5 separate regions of the Homo sapiens genome follow, and regions 2, 3, 4 and 5 are each linked to region 1. Evidence: promoter capture Hi-C in 16 types of primary human blood cells and fetal thymus (Javierre and others, 2016). All regions are on one chromosome and are shown on one strand. Each heading gives the region's core, a stretch centred on a gene start or on the middle of the fragment in contact. The rest is flanking DNA. Distances are from core to core; before and after follow the strand shown.

Region 1 (2,700 bases), core at 147-2,646:
TTTCTAGACCCCAGCTGCAAGAGACCTTGATACCAAAACCCAGTGGCCTAGGAATCAGTATTTCTTAAATATCCATTAGAGCTTCTGCATCGAACCACGTTAGGGAACAACTGATTTAATCAACACACTGATTTACTTAGGAGCTTTTGACTTAGCCTCACTCCATTAAGCCCCCATAGACTGCTCTGCTTTCCAAATGCTTATGTTCACTTTTTACAGTTTTTCTCTGGTCTCCCCTGCATTTACGGTCACCTCCAATTTCCCGCCTCCTTCTCTCTCCAAAAACACACAGCTCAGCTTTTCAAAGTTAGAATAATGCATGTAGTAATCGTAAATAAACTGCACGAAGAGCTGAGATTTCTTTCTATCTCTACGGAGTCCTGAAATGTATGAACTCTGTGACATGTGCTTTAGTCAACTTTCTTTCTAGGAGTTTGGCCCCTCTTGCCTTGCCCTCTACAGACAGTCTTCATTTTCTAAAATTTTGCATGCCAGTGCCCAGAGTGTATTTATTAACAGTTTGAAACTGTCATAAATCTCACTTGGCAGTGATTTTCTTATTAGTTTCAGCATCTCTGCCTTAGCACTGCCAAGCTTGAATGGTCTAGACATTGTCTTCAAAAATAACTCCCTCTGGGACAGGCCTGAAAGTCTCTGGCACAGGATCCCATCTATCTATGGATACTTCTCCTAGGAGATTAGAAGTCTTCCTGGCAGGCAAACATTTTGTCCCTGGAGATCCATCCACTATGGCCAGTATTATGTAAAGGATAAGAGTTCAATGGTTCACATCCATTGAATATAATTCAGTCAACAAAAGAGTGGATTATGCATATATTGCATATATGCAACTCATTTATAACCAAGGAAGAGAGGACCAACAGAAAGTTACAGTTTGGGGAGATTTAAAAATAACTGAACTTATATTGGGGACGTCTTGCTCTTGGAGATAAAAATGGCTCTTATTGCCAGCTGTTGCTCGTTTTTTGGTGGGCGGTATCAAGCATGTGATGCTTTGGTGGCTACACCAGATTCTCTTTTGCAGAACTTGCATGAAGGGTGTGGGTTCCATCCAATCTGTTATCCCCTGTTCCTTCATCCATCCCATTGCCATGCGAGTCTTACTGAGGAGGTGATCTTTACTAGAGGCCACGGATCATTTTTCCATTTCTGCATACATACAAAATTAAAGTTCACCTTGGCCCAGGACCCCTTTGGGGGGGTCACGCCCCCTGCGCCGACGTCCTGGGAGCTAGCGGTGCGCAAGCTCGGCTCACACACACCCCGCCCCGGGGCCTCCTGGGAACTGTAGTAGGCGGCTCGCGAATCCCCGCCGCCATGACAGGACCCGGACTACAGCTCCCGAAAGGCCTCGCGCGTCGCGCCTGCGCCTGCGTCCCTGCGGCCGCCAGAGGGAGGGTTAAGGCGCCTGGGCGCACAGCGAGCCGGCTGAGGGGGCTGTGGCGGCCGCGGCGGGCGACATGGACAACGCGGGGAAGGAGCGTGAGGCAGTACAGCTGATGGCGGAGGCCGAGAAGCGAGTCAAGGCCTCCCACTCCTTCCTCCGAGGGCTGTTTGGGTGAGCGCCAGACCGTGCGTGCCCTGGGGGGGGGGGGTCTCCGTACTTGGCCCCCTTCCTTTCAGGCTGACCCCCCGAGTCCCCCACGCAACCTCTGGGGCCCTCAGACCACGTCTAGGGGCCCTCAGCCTGCAGGCGCCCTCCAGAAATCCTGTAGGGTCCCCCAGCGCCCCCTGGAGCCCCCAGGACGCCCAGGGGCCCTCAGTCCGCACGCGCCCTCCAGAGACCCCACAGGCCCCCCCAGGGTCCCTGGAAACCCCGCATCCTCCCAGGGGCTCTCAGCCCCCACGCGCACTTTAGAGACCCCCTAGGGCCGGCAGAACTCCCCAGGGTTCCTCAGCCCCCACACGCTCTCCGGATCCCCTAACACGCCCCCTTAGAATCCCCAGAGTCTCACAGGGACCCTCAGCCCCCACGCGCCTTTCAGAGAACCCCTAGGACCCCCAGAGCTCCCCAAGCGCCCCACGAAGCCCCTAGAACACTCTGGGGGGGGGGCTGTCAGCCTCACGCGCCCTCTGGAGACCCCAGATCGCCCCCCTCGCCCTGGCCCGGGTTGGTGCGGGGGTCCCACGACCTAGAAGGTCAGCGGCTCCCTGAGGCCCGCGGGCGCGGTAGCTCGGGGCGCGCGTGGGGCCCCCTTCTCAGTGCGTAGCGAGTCGTATTGGTGCATTTCGCCACGCTGAAGCCCGTATCGCTCCTGAGACCGGTCCGGGTGAGGCGCGCCGGGGTGGAGCCGGAGGGGTGGGTGCGGGGGCCGCCCCCGGCGCCTGGAACGCGCACCTGGGGGCGTCCCGCCTGCAGGTGGGCCCCGCCGGGGAGGGGGCGGTCCGGCGAGGGATCCAGAGCTGGTGTGCTTGTTGGCCTCTCTCCAGGGGCCTTGCGCCGAGTACACCTTTAGTAAATACTTGACTAATGAACGAATATATTTTCTCAGCATAGTATTTTTCCTTCTCCGGAGATTGATTGATAGCCAGAGCCTCCTGTTTGATTAACGGTAACGCTGCTGCTGTTTAAGTCAGGCGTCCTTTGGGAATCCCTTTAATTTCCTGTAATTCTTCCGTGCTCTCCTAAGGAGGATTTTAAATTCCAACCTCTCAAAAAGCAGAGCCCGCACTGACAGC
Region 2 (2,700 bases), core at 105-2,604, 2.7 Mb after region 1:
CTGGCGTGTTCTTGGCTCACTGCAACCTCTGACTCTCAGTTCAAGCAATCCAGCCTCAGCCTCCCAAGTAGCTGGGATTACAGGTGCCTGCCACCACACCCAGCTAACTTTTGTATTTTTAGTAGAGACAGGGTTTCACCATGTTGGCCAGGCTGATCTCGAACTCCTGACCTCAAGTGATCCGTCTGCCTCGGCCTCCCAAAGTGCTGGGGTTACAGGTGTGGGCCACTGCGTCCAGCAAATAGAAAAGAATGTATGGCCTTCTTTTTATTCATTCATTTCATTCATGTATGACATTTGTTTGTTTGTTTTTGTTTAGTTTTTTTTTTTTTTTTTTTTGAGATGGAGTCTCGCTTTGTCACCAGACTGAGTGCAGTGGTGCCATCTCGGCTTACTGCAACCTCCAACTCCCTGGTTCAAACGATTCTCCTGCCTCAGTCTCCCCAGTAGCTGAGATTACAGGCATGCATCACCACGCCCAGCTAATTTTTGCATTTGTAGTAAAGACAGGGTTTCACCATCTTGCCCAGGATAGTCTCAGCCACCTGCCTTGGCCTTCCAAAGTGCTGGGATTACAGGCGTGAGCCACCACGCCTGGCCAACACATGCTGTATTTTTAAATTATGAGTTCAAATGGATATTTGAAGTAAAATCTAGTATTACAGAGTTTTCACATTTTCTTTGATGTGATATTTTTGTATCTCCTTTCTCTTACACTGAAAATCTTGGTTCTTAATAATAATTATTAATTCTTTGCAGATCTTTTTGCCCTTAGAATACATCCCTCTAAGGAGGTACAATCAGAATACTGTTTTCAAAAATCACTTGAAATAATTATTTTCTCTATATAGTTATGCTACCAATTACATATACGGTTGGGTTTATTTTTTCATTTATTTTTGATTTTCAGGTTTGTCTTTTTCTATTTTAATTTTTGAATATGTAAAACATTTATATGGTTCAAAAGTGAAAAAAATATAAAAAGGTATACTCAGAGAGGACCCTGTTTCATTCCTTTCCACCTCATCCTCCATCCCACTTAGGTAGGAATTGATGTTAGCTTTTTATTTATCCTTCCAGTGTTTCTTTTTGAAAAAAAAATTTTTAATATTCTGTTCCTTTTATATTTAACAACGTATCTGGAAAATTATGTCAAGTCAGTACACGCGAAATTTTCCCATTATTTTTAAACAGCTGCATAGTACTCCATAGTGCTACACTGTGTGGATGAACTGGATTAAATTAGCCACTTATAGATGTATGTGTATATAAGTACCTTGTTAGACAATCACAGGGTTCTCTCTGGTATCTGGTCATACTCGTTTTCTAGAGTGGCTGCAACAGATTACCACAAATTGCGTGGCTTAAAACAACAGAAATTTATTTTCTCACGGTTCTGGAATCCTGAAGTCTGAAATCAAGGTGTTGGGCTTCCTCTGGAAGACTCCAAGGGAGAATCCTTTCTTGCCTCTTCCAGTTTCTCTTGGCTATAAGGGTCTTTTCGTTTGTGGCTCCATAACCTCAATCTCTACCTTGGTCTTCATGTGCCCTTCTCCTTTGTTTCTATGTTTTCACTTCTTTTGTTTCTTACAAGCACATTTGTCATTGGATTTAGGGTCTACCCAGATAACTGAGGATCTTATTATATTTGCAAAGATCCTTCTGCCAAATAAAGTCTCAGTCACAGTTTTCAGGGATTAGGACATAGACATATCTTTTTGGGGGGAAGGGTGGGCACTGTTCAACCCACTACATTGGCTATTATAAATAGTGGTGAAAGGAATAAACTTCCATGCATGGTTTTATATTTATTTCTCCATAGAGTTATCCTACCAATTACATATATTGTTAGTTTTATTTTTTCCATTTATTTTTTATTTTCAGGCTTGTCTTTTTCTGTTTCAATTTTTGAATATGGAAAACATTTACATGGTTCAAAAATGAAAAAAATATAAAAAGATATACTCAGAGAGGACACTGAGTCCTTTCCACCTCATCCTCTATCCCACTTAGGTAGGCATTAATGTTAAGGTTTTTTTTTAAATCCTTCCAGTGTTATATATTAGAATATCTGCAGGGTAGATTCCTAGAAGTCAAAATTCTGGCTGGGTGTGGTGGTTCACACCTGTAATCCCAGCATTCTGGGAGGCTGAGGCCCGTGGATCACTTGAGGTCAGGCGTTCAAGAGCAGCCTGGCCAACATGGTGAAACTCTGTCTCTACTAAAAATACAAAAATTAGCCAGGCATGGTGGCACATGCCTGTAATTCCAGCTACTCAGGAGGCTGAGGCAGGAGAATCGCTTGAACCTGATAGGCAGAAGTTGCAGTGAGCTGAAATCACACCACTGCACTCCAGCCTGGGGGACAGAGCAAGACTGTCAAAAAAAAAAAAAAACAACAAAACATGGGAGGCCAAAGCCCATGGATCACCTGAGGTCAGATGTTCAAGACCAGCCTGGCCAACATGACAAAACCCCCTCTCCACTAAAAATACAAAAAAATTAGCCAGTCGTGGTTGCGCACGCCTGTAATCCCGGCTAATCGGGAGGCTGAGGCAGGAGAATCGTTTGGACCTGGCGAGATAGCTCCACTGCACTCCAGCCTGGGTGACAGAGCCAGACTTCATCTCAAAAAAAAAAAAAAAAAAAAGAAAAAGAAAAAAGAAAAAAAGAAATTGAAATTCTGGGTCAAAAGGCAAA
Region 3 (2,700 bases), core at 28-2,527, 2.2 Mb before region 1:
CAGCACACCAACATGACACATATATACCTATGTAACAAACCTGCACGTTGTGCACATGTACCCTAGAACTTAAAGTATAATTAAAAAAAAGAAAAAAGAAAACAGAGGGGCTCCGTTACAGGCTTCAAACAGAGAGAAAGCCAGAGCCACCTACAGCCGAGTCAATGTGGGGATTCCTGCAATGCCTCGGCCAACTGAAGGGTAGAGCATGAAACACACAGTCATTTGATGGTAATTATCTTGAAAAGATCAGACCAGTGATATTTCTGCAAGGAGACCAATTCTACCACAATTCCTTCCATCTATTAGTCACCATCTCACAATTATTTTGCCTTTTCTAATCAGCAGCTAGGCATTTGAAGCCCTTTCTTGAACACATTTATCATCTCCAATTTTGTGGACAGAATCAATTTTATTTACCCATGCTAAGCCTACCACAATCTCATTTGTAATTAGAGAAGTATGCATGAGGGAAAGGATTTGTTGTTGCTAAATTAGGTCCAATGTTCCCATCCTTGGCGTGTCTGGTGTGTTTATAACATGCCCTCCGCGGCTGGTGGCAGGTGGACTCAGGGTGCCCAACAATGTTCTTCCCTAAATCAAAGCTCATCGTGATTTTTCCTATCTAAGTTGCTTCAGGAATCGTCCCAGCTGTCCCCAGACTGTCCAGGGAGTTCCCTGCTGGAGATTGTTCCCAGTCCACTAGAGCTGAACCTGAAATTGATTTTGCCTAACTCTAGTAAGATCTGCAGACAAGGAAGAAACCAGGAAATGGTGGCCAAAGAAAGACACCGTGGCACCTCAAAAGTGACAAAACATTGAGAAGCAATGCCCCTCGTAATTCTCCATCTCTGTCCAAATGGGCACTTCCTGGGAAACCAAGAATGCACTTCTCATCAGCAGAAGGGTATCTTAGGAAGGACATTCACTGCCCATTCCTCACCCAACCCTTGGTGGTTCCAGGCTTCACCTGAATGGGTGTCTCTCCTTCTCCTGATGGCAAACTCAAGGGCTCTGAAGAGCTAATATGTTTCCAGGTCAGGAATGACCCAAGATATAACTCAGTCTGTGTTATAACTCCCCTTTTTCTAACCCTTTTAACTTCCCAGTACAGAGCAGACAGCTGTGCTCAGGAACCGTGTCTCCAGCAGCAGTTTTCCCCCTTTTCCTGTTAAAGTCCTACCTGAGAGCCTACCCCATGGAGAAGCCTCATAGGAATTAAGATATTCCAGATATTCTTAGGAAAATGAAATATTGAAGAATGGCTTCCTGAGCCGATAATGGTGGTATATTTGAAAAACAGACCAGAGTGCGATGTTTAAAAGCCTGAAGTCATAAAAGGTATTATGAACGGATGGATGGGGAACCTCTACAAGCAGAATTCATTGATGTCACTGTAAACGATGAATGCTGTCACTCTTTTTTATATATAACAAAAAGATACGCTGCTGCATCCAGACCTCATTGGAGAAGTTGTCAGACTCACTGAAATGGCATTGCATAAGCTATTTATGATGATATGAGGGAAAATATAAGGTTAAGAGATCTTTATCTACTATCTATGGAAATGTGCTTCCACACAAAGGCGGTACATGAAATAACCTTCCGGATAACCCATGACATTGGGGGCACTGTAAAGTGAGATTAACTAGCAGAGACAAATCTGCACTCAAATTGTTTGTGCTCAACCCTGATGCCTTGGCCTCATGAACACACAGTTGTTTTTCTAGCTTTCTCTATGTAAAATCCCACTCCGAATTTTACAGCACTCGTTGGTGTGACAGATTCACAAGTGAACCAACAAAAAATTCATGCTCCACCTTCCAGAAGATAGAGGGGCTGCTGGGAACAGCTGCCCAGCCACAGATGACATCTCCCAGCCACCTTTGTCTTTGTCATGGCCAAACCATAGGCTACAAGCAGAGGGGAAGTGGTCATTTCCAGGCCAGGGTTTTTCAAAATCAGGTGTGCTTCCCCGATGATCTCTCCAGGTTTCCAGTGCCCGGGGATAGAAGATTCCCAGGTTCTAGGGGATGGCGAAGCTATGACAAGAAAAACCCTGGGCCTTGCGTCACCCCATGGAGAAATGACACTATCAACCCAGGACCAATCCACACCACACTTTATATAAATGAGAAGTGAACTTCTATTTCACTGCCCAGACAACTAAAATTTGCAGTTTGTTACAACAGTTAGTGTTATCTTTATTAGTTGATATGGCTTGGGTCTGTGTCCCCACTCAAATTTCATGTCGAATTGTAATCACCAGTGTTGGAGGAGAGGCCTGGTGGGAGATGATTGAATCATGGGGGCAGACGTCCCCCTTGCTGTTCTTGAGATAGAGGTCTCATAAGATCTGGTTGACTGAAAGTGTGTAGCACCTCCCCACCTCCTCTCTCCTGCCAGCCATGTGAAGATGTGCTTGCTTTCTCTTCACCTTCCACCCTGATTGTAAGTTTCCTGAGGCCTCCCCAAAAGCAGAAGTCTATATAGGCCAAAGAACCATAAGCCAATTAAGCCTCTTTTCTTTGTAAATTAAAAAAAAAAAAATTAGCCAAGCATGCTGCCACATGGTGGTGGGAGGACCACTTGAGCCCAGGAGACAGAAGTTGCAGTGAGCCGAGATTGTGCCACTGCCCTCCAGCCTGGGCAACAGAGCAAGACCCTGTCTCGAATAATATTAATTAAAAAAAAAAAGCT
Region 4 (2,700 bases), core at 63-2,562, 2.3 Mb after region 1:
ATAATGTTAAATGGAAACTACTATTTAACCAAAATTCATTTAATGGGAATATGGGGTCCAAAATCCAGACACAGAATCTTCACTTGGGGAACACAACCCATGGGTTGCAGTATGCCTATGTTAAAAAGAAAAAAAAAAGATTAAAAGGAAAAAAATTACAAAAACACACATTTTTAACTAATAGCATCACAAATCTTTACCTTCTCACTAGTAAGAGTGAACTTAGAATAGAAGTGAAGGAAACATAGCATAATTGCTTCCACATTAGAAATTTTTATTAGTTACCATTCCCCCCCTAGAGTTTCATGATCAATTGGGTACTTGGTTCATGCAGAATGAATGACTGGATAGTGTGAGCAACTTGTCATTAAATTACAAAGAAAGGAAGACCTCTGAATACATCTATGACCCCATGCCCTGAGGTAGTGCTTCATTTCTGTTGTATTCCTAAGAAAGCACGACTGCAGTCTGGTAATGAGACACCATCAGATAGACTCAGCTTGAGGGTCACCCTCTAGAATGAAAGCTGTACTCTATGAACTTGTCAGGAACATGAAAGACAGGGAAAGACTGAGGAATCGTTCCAGATGTAGGGAGACTGAAGAGACATGCCAGCCAAATGCAACCGCGGTTTGCAGGTGAGCCACTGGACCAGGGGGAAAAAAAAGGGAGCATCGTTAAGATAGCTGGTGAAATCTGATGCAGTCTGCGGACTGGTTTCACCACTAGGAGGGCTGTATGGTGTGATCATGTACAAGAACATCCTTGGCTTTTGGAAACACACATTGAAGATTTTAGGAGTGATGAGGCATCATATATGCACTTCTCAAACAGATCAGAAAAGGCTAATGGTTTTAGATAGACAGATTTAAATAGATACCCAACTGATATCTCAGTGTCAAAAATCTAATAAAATGTTAATAGTTGAGGGATCTGGGTGACAGGAACACTGGAGGTCTTTGTCCTATATTCGCAACTTTTTTGTAAGCTAGAATTTACTTTAAAAAATATATATATATATACACACATTTTTTTTTTTTGAGATGGAGTCTCACTCTGTTGCCCAAGCTGGAGTACAATGGCACAATCTCAGCTCACTGCAACCTCTCCCTCCTGGGTTTAAGGGATTCTGTTTCAGTTTCCCAAGTAGCTAGGATTACAGGCATGCGCCACCACACCCAATTAATTTTTGTATTTTTAGTAGAGACGGGGTTTTGCCATGTTGGCCAGGCTGGTCTCAAACTCCTCACCTCAGGTGATCCACCCGCCTCTGCCTCTCAAAGTGCCGGGATTATAGGTGTGAGCCACCACGCCCAGCCACTTTAAAATAATTTCTAAAATTCACCTATGACTTCTAGTGAAAAAGGACCACAGTCACTTTGGAAATCCACCACCTCCCAAGCAGCAAGTTCTTCTTAGTAATGAATGTAAAATTTATTTGTAAAACATCTTCAGCAGATGCAGACATCTGCTGCTCACACTTCTCTATCATAACACTTCATACCCTGATAATCAAACTCCTCTTGGCTTTCTCTCCCAGGCAAAACGGTGGTAATCTTGTTAACTCTTCTTCACAGGCCTATTTTCTAGCCCCTCATCCACACTGCAGCACCTCAGAATGCTGAGCCCTCCATGTCTTTTTAAAATTTAATACTAAAAACCAGATATTTGCCTCAATGAAAAGCCTTTCCATGGCTTGCAATTCTTACATATTAAATCTCTATTCAGAATCTTTGAAATACCCATCCCTGGGATGCTTACCCATAGTTCATGTTTTCAGTCACCCCTCACTTGGACCTTTCAGTTTTACACAGCTAAGTGGTCCTTATCTTGCTGAGTTTTCTACTTTTAAGCCACTTGTTATTCTGTTTTTGTCTCGATACCACAATTCTATACCATCTTCAGCTTACTCTACTAATATCTCAGTGTCAGTTTCTAGACTATTATGATATCTTACTCTGAATCAATATAGGCACTGAAAAAACCGCGGCTGGCTAATGGGCCCTTTTAAAAGGATGTTTTTGTATAACCGTAAGAGCCAATTCCACTTATAAGTTTCTACCATGCTTGTGGGTGCTATACACACTGTAACAAGTCACTCCATTAGACTCTTTTAGATTCAATTATTGACTTTCACCACAATGCAGAAAAAACACTGTACACACATAGGAAAACATTCAGACGATAAAATTACATCTACGTGTAACTACAGCTAACATGACTTGGGCTGGAAATATGCTGGTTATTTGACCAGCTAACATTGCAATGACCACCTCTAAAAGGGCTGAGAAAGAGGGAGTTTTTTTTTGTCTCCCACTTCCCAGAAGTTTCTGGATTGATAAAGCAGCTGTGACTACCCAGGGTTGCTCCCTATGAAATGACTCAGGAATTTTAGGAGACAGTGGTATCTGTGATCAGTGGGATGCTTTGTGTTTCTTTGTTTAAAAAGGTACAACCAAGGCCGGGTGCAGTGGCTCACACCTGTAATCCCAACACTTTGGAAGGCAGAGGCAGGCAGATCACCTGAGGTCAGGGGTTCGAGATCAGCCTGGCCAACATGGTGAAACCCCATCTCCACTAAAAATACAAAAATTAGCTGGGGTTGGTGGTGGGCGCCTGTAATCCCAGCTACTAGGGAGGCTGAGGCAGGACAATCGCTTGAACCTGGGAGGTGGGGGTTGCAGTGAGCTGAGATCATGC
Region 5 (2,700 bases), core at 24-2,523, 2.3 Mb before region 1:
GAAAATGGAGGACATTATGTTAAGCGAAATGAGGCACAGCATGACAAATATCACATGTGCTCACTCATTTGTGGGGCTAAAAACGTGAACTCATGGAGATGGAGAGTAGAATGAGATAGTTAACAGAGGCTGGGAAGGATGGTGGGTAGAGGAGATAAAGAGGGACTTGTTAATCGATACAAAAATACAGTTAGAATGAATAAGATCTAGTAGTTGGTAGCACTATACAGTGACTATAGTTAAGAACAATTTTACTATATATTTAAAAATAAGAGAGAATTGGAAACTTCCTAAAACAAAGAAATGCTAAATGCTTGAGGGGATGGATACCCCAATCACCCTCATTTGACCATTAAACACTGTATGCCTGTATCAAAACATAACATGTACCCTATAAATATGTACAACTAATATTTATCCAGAATAATTAAAAATTTAAAAACCAAAAGAGAAAAAGCAAACAGCAAGTATACCTAGTAAAGGCCTGAAATATAAAGTCTACGTGGTTTGGCAAGCCACAAAAGATATCAGCATATTATACACCCTACATAATGAAAGAATTCTGGCATTGATGCATAATTAGATAAATGGGGGAACAATTAGAAATTGAAATGCAAATGTAAATTGAGTATACTGAATTATGTAGCTGAAACCTTAAATTATTTGGTAAAAGACTATATTTTTAATAAATTTAATGGGAAATTAATAAAATATTAGAAAATTTTAAAAATAATTGTATATTTACAGTGTGTACCTGGAGAAAAATTAAACCATTGAGAGATCTAAATGTGAATGATAAAACCACAAAATCCGTAGGAAAATCAGAGATCAAAAGTACTACATAGCAAAAAAAAGAAACAAAAGAAAAAAAAAAGACATACCCATAATCAAAAGACAGTGGGAAAATTATTTACCTATATCATAGAAATGGGAAAATATGCTTAATGTATGTATAGGGCTACCTAAATAAAAGAAATCGCCGGTTCTGAAAGGATCCCTCCACGTCCAAACGACCATAGGCTCGCCCCACCTGTCAGAGAGGAGTCCTTCCGAGAAGTCCTTCCAAGGATTCCGGGTCGCGCAGTCCCGGGTGGACCGCTATGACCAATATTCTGGGGCGTGTACCTGGACGACTCCCGAGGACTCTGGGGAGTGTAGTCCACCGAGGGGATGCGACGCGCAGGGTCGCATAGCCTCCGGGCCGCGCCGAGGATGCTGGGTAGCGTAGTCCCGGCCGCGCTGAGGATTCTGGGTAGTGTAGTCCCGGGCGGCGCAGAGCGTTCCAGATCCCTGGGCGTCAGCGAGCCGTGAGATGCGTGGTCCACCATCGGTGACCTCACCGCCTCGGTTCGCCCTCAGCCGCCCCGGTGAGCTGCGCTCCTGCGGGTCCCTCTCTGCAGCGCGCCCTTCCGGCGCAGGAAGAAGGGCCGGGAAGGCCTGGGACGTGAGGGCGCTGCTGGGGCCGTAGCGCGCGCTCCTCCAGGCCCGGCGTCTCCGCGTTCTGGGGAGGGGCGGAGACCCAGGCCGCGCCTTGAAGTGGGCGGTGGGGCTGCGGCTTGCCGAGCGCCCCGGGTCTGGGCCGCCACTCAGTCTCCGTTCCCGGTTGCGTGTAGTGGCGGCTCGGGCGGTGAACAGCCCGGATTTCACAGGGGCGCCGAGCAACCCAGGTCCTCTTGTGCCAGGGTCGCCGCTCCTCGGGTGGGGACGGGCCAGCGGCCTAGCGAGCTGCCACGGGGGTCTTTTGGCCGGAGGTGGAGGGGGACTCGGCCACAGCCAGGGTCCACTGGTGGGGTGGGGGTTACAGCCATGAGACGGATGGGCTAGGTCCGACTCGGGTTCCCTCCGACTCTGATGCTCCAGACTTTATTGTGGGAGGCGGGACAGGGGAGGACTTCGCCCGCGTGTTTTGGGGAAGGGCCGCTGCTTTGGGTTGGGAGCACCCCGCCTTGGGACGATCTTCCGCGGATAGGAGTGTAGGCCGGGACCAAATGTCCTCGCACGGGCACGTCTAGACGTGTTTTGGTGGGGGGGGGGGGGGATCTGCGTGGGGCAGCGTCCGCGGGAGGTGAGGTGGCTGTGGGGACCCAGGTGGCCTCTTCCCTGGGGCCTTGCTAATGACGGCAAAATCCGGGTTCTGCCAAAATATATTTAAAAAGGTTTATTCCTAGTCAGTATGAGTGACTGTGGCCCAGGTTATTCAGCCTCAAGAGGTCCTGTGAAAGTGCCCGAGATGGTCAGGCTTGCAGGTTAATTTTATACAATTCAGGGAGACAGGAATTTCAGGTAAAGTCATAAATCAGGCTGAGCAGTGTGGCTCATGCCTGTAGTCCCAGCACTTTGGGAGGCCAGGAGTTCCAGAGCAGCCTGGGCAGCACAGCAAGACCCTGTCTCTACATGAAATTAGAAAAATAAAAAAATTAGCGGGGCGTGGTGTCCCATGCCTGTGGCCTCAGCTACTTGGGAGGCCCAGTCAGTTGAGTCCAGGAGGTGGAGGCTGTAACCAGCTATGTTGGCTGCACTGCACGCTAGCCTGGGTAACACAGCGAGATCCTGCCTCCAAAAAGAAAATCATAAATCAATAAGAGAAAGATATACACGGGTTCCTCCCAAAAAGCTGGTATATCTCCAAAGGGTTTACACCTCATGGGGGCACTTAGGGATTCTTTAGTGGACAGTTGGTTGAGAGACTTAAGCTACTGC

What was found. Contacts are between HindIII fragments. The CHiCAGO score rates a contact against its expected background, and 5 or more counts as called.
Region 2: a contact is called between a fragment that was not itself captured here and the fragment with the promoter of NAPB in region 1, in 4 of 17 cell types (naive CD8 T cells, naive CD4 T cells, non-activated CD4 T cells and 1 more). The highest score is 9.3, in naive CD8 T cells.
Region 3: a fragment that was not itself captured here is called in contact with the fragment with the promoter of NAPB in region 1 in 1 of 17 cell types (total B cells); the score reaches 5.1 in total B cells.
Region 4: a contact is called between a fragment that was not itself captured here and the fragment with the promoter of NAPB in region 1, in 3 of 17 cell types (total CD4 T cells, non-activated CD4 T cells and naive CD8 T cells). The highest score is 9.7, in total CD4 T cells.
Region 5: the fragment with the promoter of ZNF337 here is called in contact with the fragment with the promoter of NAPB in region 1 in 6 of 17 cell types (total B cells, total CD4 T cells, non-activated CD4 T cells and 3 more); the score reaches 17.6 in total B cells.

Annotation. Positions count from the first base shown.
Region 1 is chr20:23,420,184-23,422,883 of GRCh38, reverse strand. NAPB (NSF attachment protein beta) reads left to right here and starts at 1,396. Exons shown (of 11, transcript NM_022080.3): 1 at 1,396-1,579. The coding sequence starts at 1,482. RefSeq lists an enhancer at 1,018-1,207 and silencers at 1,458-1,547, 2,178-2,407. The HindIII fragment of the contact is 2,788 bases long and covers 597-2,700 here.
Region 2 is chr20:20,715,121-20,717,820 of GRCh38, reverse strand. No RefSeq gene overlaps it. Among named protein-coding and RNA genes, the nearest start is that of RALGAPA2, 3.8 kb to the right of the region's middle. The HindIII fragment of the contact is 3,801 bases long and covers 1-2,700 here.
Region 3 is chr20:25,627,846-25,630,545 of GRCh38, reverse strand. The region is part of intron 1 of ZNF337-AS1 (ZNF337 antisense RNA 1); the gene reads right to left. Among named protein-coding and RNA genes, the nearest start is that of ZNF337-AS1, 5.2 kb to the right of the region's middle. The HindIII fragment of the contact is 6,800 bases long and covers 1-2,700 here.
Region 4 is chr20:21,128,072-21,130,771 of GRCh38, reverse strand. All of the region lies in intron 1 of KIZ (kizuna centrosomal protein), which reads right to left. Among named protein-coding and RNA genes, the nearest start is that of KIZ, 3.3 kb to the right of the region's middle. The HindIII fragment of the contact is 7,603 bases long and covers 1-2,700 here.
Region 5 is chr20:25,695,426-25,698,125 of GRCh38, reverse strand. It overlaps ZNF337 (zinc finger protein 337), which reads left to right and starts at 1,273. Exons shown (of 5, transcript NM_015655.4): 1 at 1,273-1,367. LOC107985400 (a long non-coding RNA gene) reads right to left here and starts at 1,085. Exons shown (of 2, transcript XR_007067557.1): 1 at 963-1,085. RefSeq lists an enhancer at 1,760-1,869. The HindIII fragment of the contact is 13,942 bases long and covers 1-2,700 here.